Regions from separate parts of the Homo sapiens genome. Here regions 1 and 3 are each linked to region 2. Evidence: promoter capture Hi-C in 16 types of primary human blood cells and fetal thymus (Javierre and others, 2016). All regions are on one chromosome and are shown on one strand. The core of a region is centred on a gene start or on the middle of the fragment in contact, and the rest is flanking DNA. Distances in the headings are between cores, read along the strand shown.

The links. The method cuts DNA at HindIII sites, captures the fragments that hold promoters and counts their contacts. A CHiCAGO score of 5 or more calls a contact.
Region 1: a contact is called between a fragment that was not itself captured here and the fragment with the promoter of ZNF804B in region 2, in 1 of 17 cell types (naive CD4 T cells). The highest score is 5.1, in naive CD4 T cells.
Region 3: a contact is called between a fragment that was not itself captured here and the fragment with the promoter of ZNF804B in region 2, in 1 of 17 cell types (megakaryocytes). The highest score is 5.3, in megakaryocytes.

The regions. Positions count from the first base shown.
Region 1 is chr7:89,724,350-89,727,049 of GRCh38, forward strand. No RefSeq gene overlaps it. Among named protein-coding and RNA genes, the nearest start is that of STEAP1, 430 kb to the right of the region's middle. The HindIII fragment of the contact is 826 bases long and covers 850-1,675 here.
Region 2 is chr7:88,758,261-88,760,960 of GRCh38, forward strand. ZNF804B (zinc finger protein 804B) reads left to right here and starts at 1,440. Exons shown (of 4, transcript NM_181646.5): 1 at 1,440-1,824. The coding sequence starts at 1,717. RefSeq lists an enhancer at 1,586-2,130. The HindIII fragment of the contact is 11,667 bases long and covers 1-2,700 here.
Region 3 is chr7:88,241,199-88,243,898 of GRCh38, forward strand. No RefSeq gene overlaps it. Among named protein-coding and RNA genes, the nearest start is that of SRI, 23 kb to the left of the region's middle. The HindIII fragment of the contact is 1,562 bases long and covers 650-2,211 here.

The DNA.
Region 1 (2,700 bases), core at 13-2,512, 970 kb after region 2:
TTGTACATAATAAATACAATTTTATTTGTCAATTAAAAATTAATTTTAAAAGAGAAATGATGGAATTCGGGCACCAAAAGAAAAGGGAGAGATTAAAAAAGGGTAGTTAAAAGTTTATCAGAATACAAGTACTACTGCATCACTTTTCAGAAACACAACAAAATACAAGATCAGTACAAAGAAATGCTCTTCTCTAAGTTGTAGCCAACAGATGACTTACAGAATTTGTTTTTCTTATCTTTGTGGATCATGATAAAAATTTATTTATTCAGCCTGTAAAAAGAGAGATACCTAAAGTATATGAGGAAGGCAGTCATTATCTTTTTAATTCTGTGAGTTTCTGCCCAGAGGTACTTCCCACTCCTACATATACACATAGGAGTATAGTGAGGGGACTAAATATATGGGGAGATTTTCAGTACAGCTATCCTGTTAGTCTCCCTTCTGTCTCTCCCACAGTAAATAAAACACAAATGCTATTATGTTTCTTTATCAACACAAATATATCTAGAGCAACTAACAAAAATAGTCTATAATACTGGAGATATTTTTTCCTTTGGTGGCATGAGATCGTTTTTAAATGTTTTCTTTTCCTCACTTTTTCTTTTCCCTAGATAATACCTTCTGTTCAAGTATGTGATTCCATGTCTTAAAATACAGAGATTATACCATGTGATTCTTTAATTATTAATTTGTTTGTTATAGTGTTAATAATACCCAGGCCAGAGATATTCAAACAATTCCATGCTGCCAGTATAAGCATAGGAAGTGATACATTCTCTAAATTGATTTATACCCAGAAACATAATGTGAGCAATTCAGTAAATCCCACTGGGAATTCTGAAGCTAAGCTTTTGATTGTCAATATGTCTTAGAAACAAGAGTTTTCATATCATCTATTAAAATATCATGTAAACATCAATGAAAGTAAATATTATACAGTCTAAATTTTTCCAAACAATAGAATGAGAGAATATTTTTGTAGACCTTTAAGTCATACTTCAATATTTTAGATAAGATTAAAATAGTCTATTTTAGCCAGAAATTTAAGCCACATAATTACAAATTTAGCACTCACATATTAAACAAAGGAAGTGGTTAATACATTTGCTGTTTTACATTAAACATGCAACTTAATTCAAGTAAATTGAAAAATGTACATTTTAATGTCATCAGTCAATTTTCCAGGTCATTTCATTTCTAACATCTTTCTTAGTGACATTTGTGTTACTCTGTCTTGTTTGTCATCTACACATTTATCTCAAAGGTGATATTCTGGCATAGGAGAGAGTGTGCAGACTGTGGGAGGAAACATATTTGAGTTTAAATCACAGACCTAACACTTAGTAATGGTGTTACCTTGAAATACAATGTTTCATAGGTGTTACCTAAGAAATACAATGTTACTCTATTTCATTGAGCTTCAGTTTCACATCTTGAAATGGGGATAAACTACCAATTTCCCAGATTTGTTGTGAGAATTACATGACATGAAACACTGACCACAGCATCTGACAAAACCTACATAAAGGTGCTCAGTAGGGGGAACCATAATTGTTACCTCCTTCACTGTGTCATGTCATGGGCGTTAAAGGATGATACCTTGTTCCTTGTTGGACCAGCTAAACTCATAGCATGTCACCTTTCTAAATAATGGTTAAATTGAATACAATTAAGCTTCTCAGCTGACAGAGTTAAAGTACTCTAGAGTTATATTGGTTAAGAAGAAAATGTTAGAACAAAATAGAGAAACACAAAAACACGAAAGAGAAAACACTACTTACCAATAATACCAAAAGTAAAAGTACAAACTTGCTAAAAGCAAAAGGAAGTAACATATATAAACTCAGGTATATCATTTTTGCCTACACATTTAACAGACATTTTCTAAAATTATAAAACACAAAATAAATGAAACTATGACAAAGTAGACACACACACAGTGCTAGGGACATATGGTCAAGCCTTCTAAAAAACAAGTTGAAGGTTTTATATATATATATATATATATATATATATACATAGAGAGAGAGAATGTGTATATATGTGTATATATAGAGAGAGAATGTGTGTGTATATATGTGTATATATAGAGGATGTGTGTGTATATATGCATATATACATAGAGAGAGAATGTGTGTGTATATATGTGTATATATAGAGAGAGAGAATGTGTGTATATATGTGTATATATAGAGAGAGGATGTGTGTGTATATATGTATATATATATAGAGAGAGAATGTGTGTGTGTATATATAGAGAGAGAGAATGTATGTATATATGTGTATATATAGAGGATGTGTGTGTATATATATAGAATGTGTGTGTACATATGTATACATATATACACACATATATATACATATATCACACACACAATATGACATAAATGCTGTGCTAGCAAATTTTATGTGTACTGTTTGAATCATGGGATGCCCAGATATCTGGTTAAACATTAATTCTGGGTGTGTCTGTGAGGATGTTTCTGGGAGATTAGCATTGAATTGGCAGACTAAATAAAGAGAATTGTCCTCCCCAATGTGGGCAGGCACTATCCAGTCCACTGCAGATCTGAATGGAACAAAAAGATAGAGGAAGGGAAGATTCTCTAGTTTTCTGCCTGACTGCTTGAGCTTCAGGTGCTGCCAGTGCTTCTAGTTTGCAGGCCCTCAGATTCAGACTGGAATTTACACCACTGA
Region 2 (2,700 bases), core at 190-2,689:
TCTTTTTTGTTCCTTTTTTGCTTAAGAATTTTATGAGTTGCCTGAATAGGAAAAATTAAATTAACAGTTTTTTTTTCCTTTTAACCTGTTTCTGCTTTTGTGTCAATGTCAACCGGGATGCGAATGGGGCATTGTGGGAGACAGGAGAGGACAATACTGGGGAGAATTAGCGCATTGGCGGTAGCCTTTCAATTCCAGCGCTGAAGCAACAGACTGAGAGGAGGTGAACCTTTACCTTCTCCCAGGCACAGACAAGGCGAGGTGAGGCAGAGATGGATTGCAGAACCGCATTAAGCAACCGCGGGGTGGAGGAGAGTGCAGGGTGTCTCCAAACCCTGGGAGGGCTATCTTCTCCTTTCAGAGCACATTTCTGCCCAGGTCTTTTTATTCTCAGTGCAGCTCGCTCCCTGGTGGCTTAAATTACGGTAAACGAAATAAGGTCCGTTAAAAACCACTTCTGAGAGGGGTGATTATTGGGGGTTTTGAAAGCACAGAGGTCTTATAGAGACCAAAAATATGTGCCTCGCTAAGATACAGAAAGGCTTGTAAGTGAATCTTCATAACTCTGGGTACGTGCATGTATATGCACATATACGTATGCATGTCTCGTTTCTATACCTTATATAAGTTTTCTGCCCAAAACTTTCCTCGTCCGTGCGTTCCCTACCACGGCGCATCTAATCTGTCTGCCCTATTTGTGGCTGCACAGCTCATTCTTGCAACCGGCTGGGGAGCTGTTGCTTCTGCCAACGCCGCCGTCAGCCAGAGCGCTGAAGAAAAGCTGAAGGCCAGCAGGCAACGAAAGAGTAAAGAAAACGCCCTCCTCCTGCCCATCTCCTCCACCACAGCCTCCCCAGTCCTCCCAGGTGACTCCCAAACAGTAGAAAGTTGGCTCAGAGATAGGGCAGAAGAACCGGGGGGCTGGGCGGCTGAGGCCGGGAGGTGGGAGAGGCGGGTCCTGCAGCCCCGAGAGCCCCCCGCGGCTGCAGCGGCAGCTGTCACCTCCTGGCCTCGCCCCACAGCACACCTGAGCCTCCTGGGCAGCCCCGAGCCCACAGCTCCCAGCAGAGGCGCTAACTGCCCTCCTCAAGCACAGGTCGCCGCGTCCCCAACTCCCTGTCCTCACCCCGGCCCGCCCGTCTCCTCCTCCGCCCTCTCCCGACTGCAGCGGGGGCAGCGCTTTGGCGCTCCCAAGGACTCCCCGCCACTCTCCCCACAAAGCAGCGGCGGTGGCGGCGGCTGCTGCTGGATCTTCACACTGCAGCCAGCAGCCCAGGACGCCCCCGGCCGGACGATGGGTACCCGCGCCTGAGCATCCCCCGGGCAGGCGCCAGGCGCGAAGGCAGGGGGCGGGAGGAAAGGGGCGGGGGAATTCCTGATTCCCTGGTGGACCCTGGAAGTTGTCCTTAAATAAATATATCGCTGGCCCGCGGTTGAGCAGCCACCTCGTCAGAGCAGCATGTGGACTGGCTCGCCGGGTCCCCTCCGTGCTCTGTGCTGTCGCCGCCGCCGCCTCTGTCAGAGCAGCAGCTGTCGGCAGCAGGAGCCCCGCACGGGGCGCGGAGCAGGGACGCGCTGCCACCGCCTCCCCCTGCGTCCTGCTGGCCGCGTCTTCTCGGGAGGTGGTAGTCGCTGTTGCCGCTGAGAAACCCGCCCGCTTTCCACGGCTGGTCGCCTGGTGAGGAGTTGAGACTCTGCGCCTCCGCCCGGACCCACATGGCTTGTTACCTGGTCATCAGTTCGAGACATCTCAGCAATGGGCACTACCGGGGCATTAAAGGAGTCTTCAGGGGACCCCTGTGCAAGAACGGATCTCCCTCTCCGGTAATGTGCGCGCGCACACACATACATACACAAACGTTCCAACTCAACACAAACAAAAAGATATTGAGAGATAGTATCCTGATACAATGAGTAGGTGGTGGACATCTAAAACGTATACCTTATCCATAGGTATGGAGATACATCGTGTCCGTTTATACAATTTATTGACAGACTGTGACACAGAGAGGGGTGTGTATTTACATGTGTATTTTCAATTCAGTCAGTAGGATCTATAGTGCTACGGATGTAAATACTTACTGAATGCAGTCAACTGCAGGGCTCAGAAGGTAGCTCCTCTGTGCTATGTCAACTTACGAATCTGCTGATTTGAGCAGTGTAGAAAGTTTGAGTGGCACGTTATAATGTGCTTTTGTAAAGTCATCAGTTGAGATTAGTTTAATAATGCTACTGTTACTTTGTGAGAAAAACTCAAAGATTTTCCCTCAAATCATTGGCAAAAGGAAAGTTATAGGTAGTGAAAACTTGATTATATCTAATGCTCAACTATGCACATTCTTTAAGGGGAAGTAAGAGAATTCTTTATGGAAATCTGAGTTGGATAATTTATTGTATAATATACAAATATATTAACATGCAATTAACGTGATTGCTTTTTAACTTAGTAAACTATTCAATTTAGTTACTATTCAGTTTATTCACATTCTTTTTATAAAATAATTTCATCCAGATTATATGAGTTAAATACATTATTAATTCATTTCTTGGTACATGCTATTATGTTTTAAGGCTCCAAATATGTTTCAAGAAAATGTGTGTGAATGTGTATGTGTGTGTAATTTATATATATATATAATAAATATATATATAATAAATATATATATAATAAATATATATATATATTAGTTTTGGACTACT
Region 3 (2,700 bases), core at 181-2,680, 520 kb before region 2:
CATGTACAGTTTTCACTTCTTGTTTCCCCTGAAGTACATAAAAGTGAGTTGTGTTTACCATACACTTTGAAGAACTTCAAGTCTAATCCTTTTTTTTTTTTTTTTTTTTTGAGATGGATTCTGCTCTGTCGCCCAGGCTGGATTGCAGCGGTGTGATCTCGGCTCACGGCAACCTCTGCCTCCTGGTTTCAAGCAATTCTCATGCTTCAGCTTCCTGGGTAGCTGGGATTACAGGCGCGCGCCACCATGTCTGGCTCATTTTTTTTTTTTTTTTTTTTTGTATTTTTAGTAGGGACGGGATTTCGCCATGTTGTCCAGGCTGGCCTTGAACTCCTAGCCTCAAGTGATCTGCCCTCCCAAATGCTGGGATTACAGGCATGAGCCACTGTGCCTGGCCCAAGTCTAATCTTTTTCATCCAAGATTCCATATCTCCAAAAATTGGGCACCAATTTACTTTCCCACTTTTTTCCTTCCAACAAGTCTGGGTAATTCCCATGGGATTGTCAGCCTGTTCTTGTCTGCATTTTTTGTTTGTTCATTAGTTCATCTGTTTATTAACGTTTTGAGTACCTATTATAAAGCTAATGTAAAGCTTGGTGCTCTGGGGTGATATGAACAAAATGCAAAAATTAGTTTGCGCTGTTCTGAAGCTTAGAATTAATCACCTCTTCTCTGCGACCCTGAAGTACTTTGTACATGCTCTGGTGCAGCTTTTTCATACACTGTTAATGGGTTAATCACCCATATATGGTAAATCTCCAGCACCTGGTAAAATAAGTGACTTATATTAGACATCTGTATACTTTGTAAACATATAGTTTATACAGAGAAACATGACATCTACACATGTAATACACATATAATAATACTATCAATACAAGTTATAGTTAGGAGACAAAGTGAGTTGTATTAACAGGAAATACTATAACAGTGCTAAGAAAAGGAAAAACCAAATAATTCCTTTGTTCATGCTGTATTTTCATCATTAAATGTCCTTCCTCATCTGTGTTCTATTCCATACCCAGCTGAATACTTCTTCTGTGATGTCACCCAAGACTACAGCTCTTATCACGTCTTGATGAATTAAATCTCTTTTTGCAACAACTTATCAAGTATACATGAATCCTCAATAAAATTATAAAACTTTCGGGCAGTCACTGGTAACATTTGCCTCTATGTCTCTTACAGTATCTTGTAAAAAACAGATCCTCAGAAATTATGGGATGATTTTGTTTGCCAGATGCATGGAATGAGCTACTTTAAATTTCACATAAAATTCTAAAGTAGACTCTTATGAATAAAATATTGAATGTAATGCATACATGCTATTTTAACTACTTGTATCTGTGTAATGCTTTACAGTATATAAATGTTTTATATACATTTTACTGCTGGATATTTTAAAATTTGTTATTCATGTTTATAATCTTTGTTTTACAGATGATTATAATCAGGTTAATTTAAGTCAAAGTAACTTGCCCCTGGTTTCACTAATAAATAGCCAAGTTAGATTTGAATTTAGGTCTTCTCAAACCAAATCTCTTGTTTTCTAATAATATTATATAGTGTACTAAATGTCCACATTAATTTAATTATAGAATACGAAAGCGATTAGATTCTGCTTAAGTGGTAACTGACACAAACATCATAAAAAGTAATAGGTTGTTATTAAAAAACAAGTTATTAGCAAAAGGCAAAATTTAGAAAAATTAGAAAAAGTCATGAATACACTGTGATTATATCAGGGCTAATTTCATTACCTCACACAAAAACAGTTAATTTACAAAGATAGGTTGCTAAAACCTCAGGGTTTTTTTTTTTTTTTTTTTGACAAATTGAAATTTTTAATGTAGACTTCTGCAAGACACTACTAGAAAAAAATATATATAATGAACATTAAAAAATTTAATTCTCAGAAAAGGATGAAAAACACTGATTTATAAGAAAAGAAAAAGGAGGCCTTAAACTCGGGAAAATTAAAATGGCAGTAAATTGAATGGAAGAAAACGAGTCTTTAAGGAGTGATCTAGTGCTGTGTCTCACAGGAATATGGAAAAGAGATCACCAACTTGTAGTTTCTATTACTCTATGTTTATTTGTTATTCATTTTTTTCTACATTAAGTAGCTTTTTTTTATTTTTAGTTTTTAGTTTCAAAATGTGTAGTATTTTATGTTTGGTGATTTTACAGCTAATGTTGCATTTCACTGAAGCTTGGTCAGTGGTATACTGCCCATATCCACAAGGTGTCATTATAACATTGTATTTGGTTTGAAACCTTTCTTGCATTTTTCACTCATTTGTTTTCGCATTTACAGTAAGCTTCAACAAGGACATTTCACAGTGGGTGCCACTGGAGGATGCTAGTTGCTCTGAGGGAAATTGCTAAGGCTAGAGGAGTTTTGAAAAAAGCTGAAGGCTGGACCAATGAAGCTACTGATGGGCAACACTGACCAGAACTGGAACAATTGGAAGCAATGTTGTTTTCCTCTTTTCTCACCTTTCACTCCCATTATGTAACCCTAGTAACAAAACACAATAGGCAGTTAGTGGGCAAGGGAGTCTGGGAAAGATATTCCGCAGAGTCCCAGCACAGAGCAGAGTAGAACAGAGTAGGATTGGAGCTGAGAGATAGTAAGTAAATAGGCAGCAGAAATATGTCAAGCAACAATACCCCATGTAAGTAGAAGGGGATGGTGG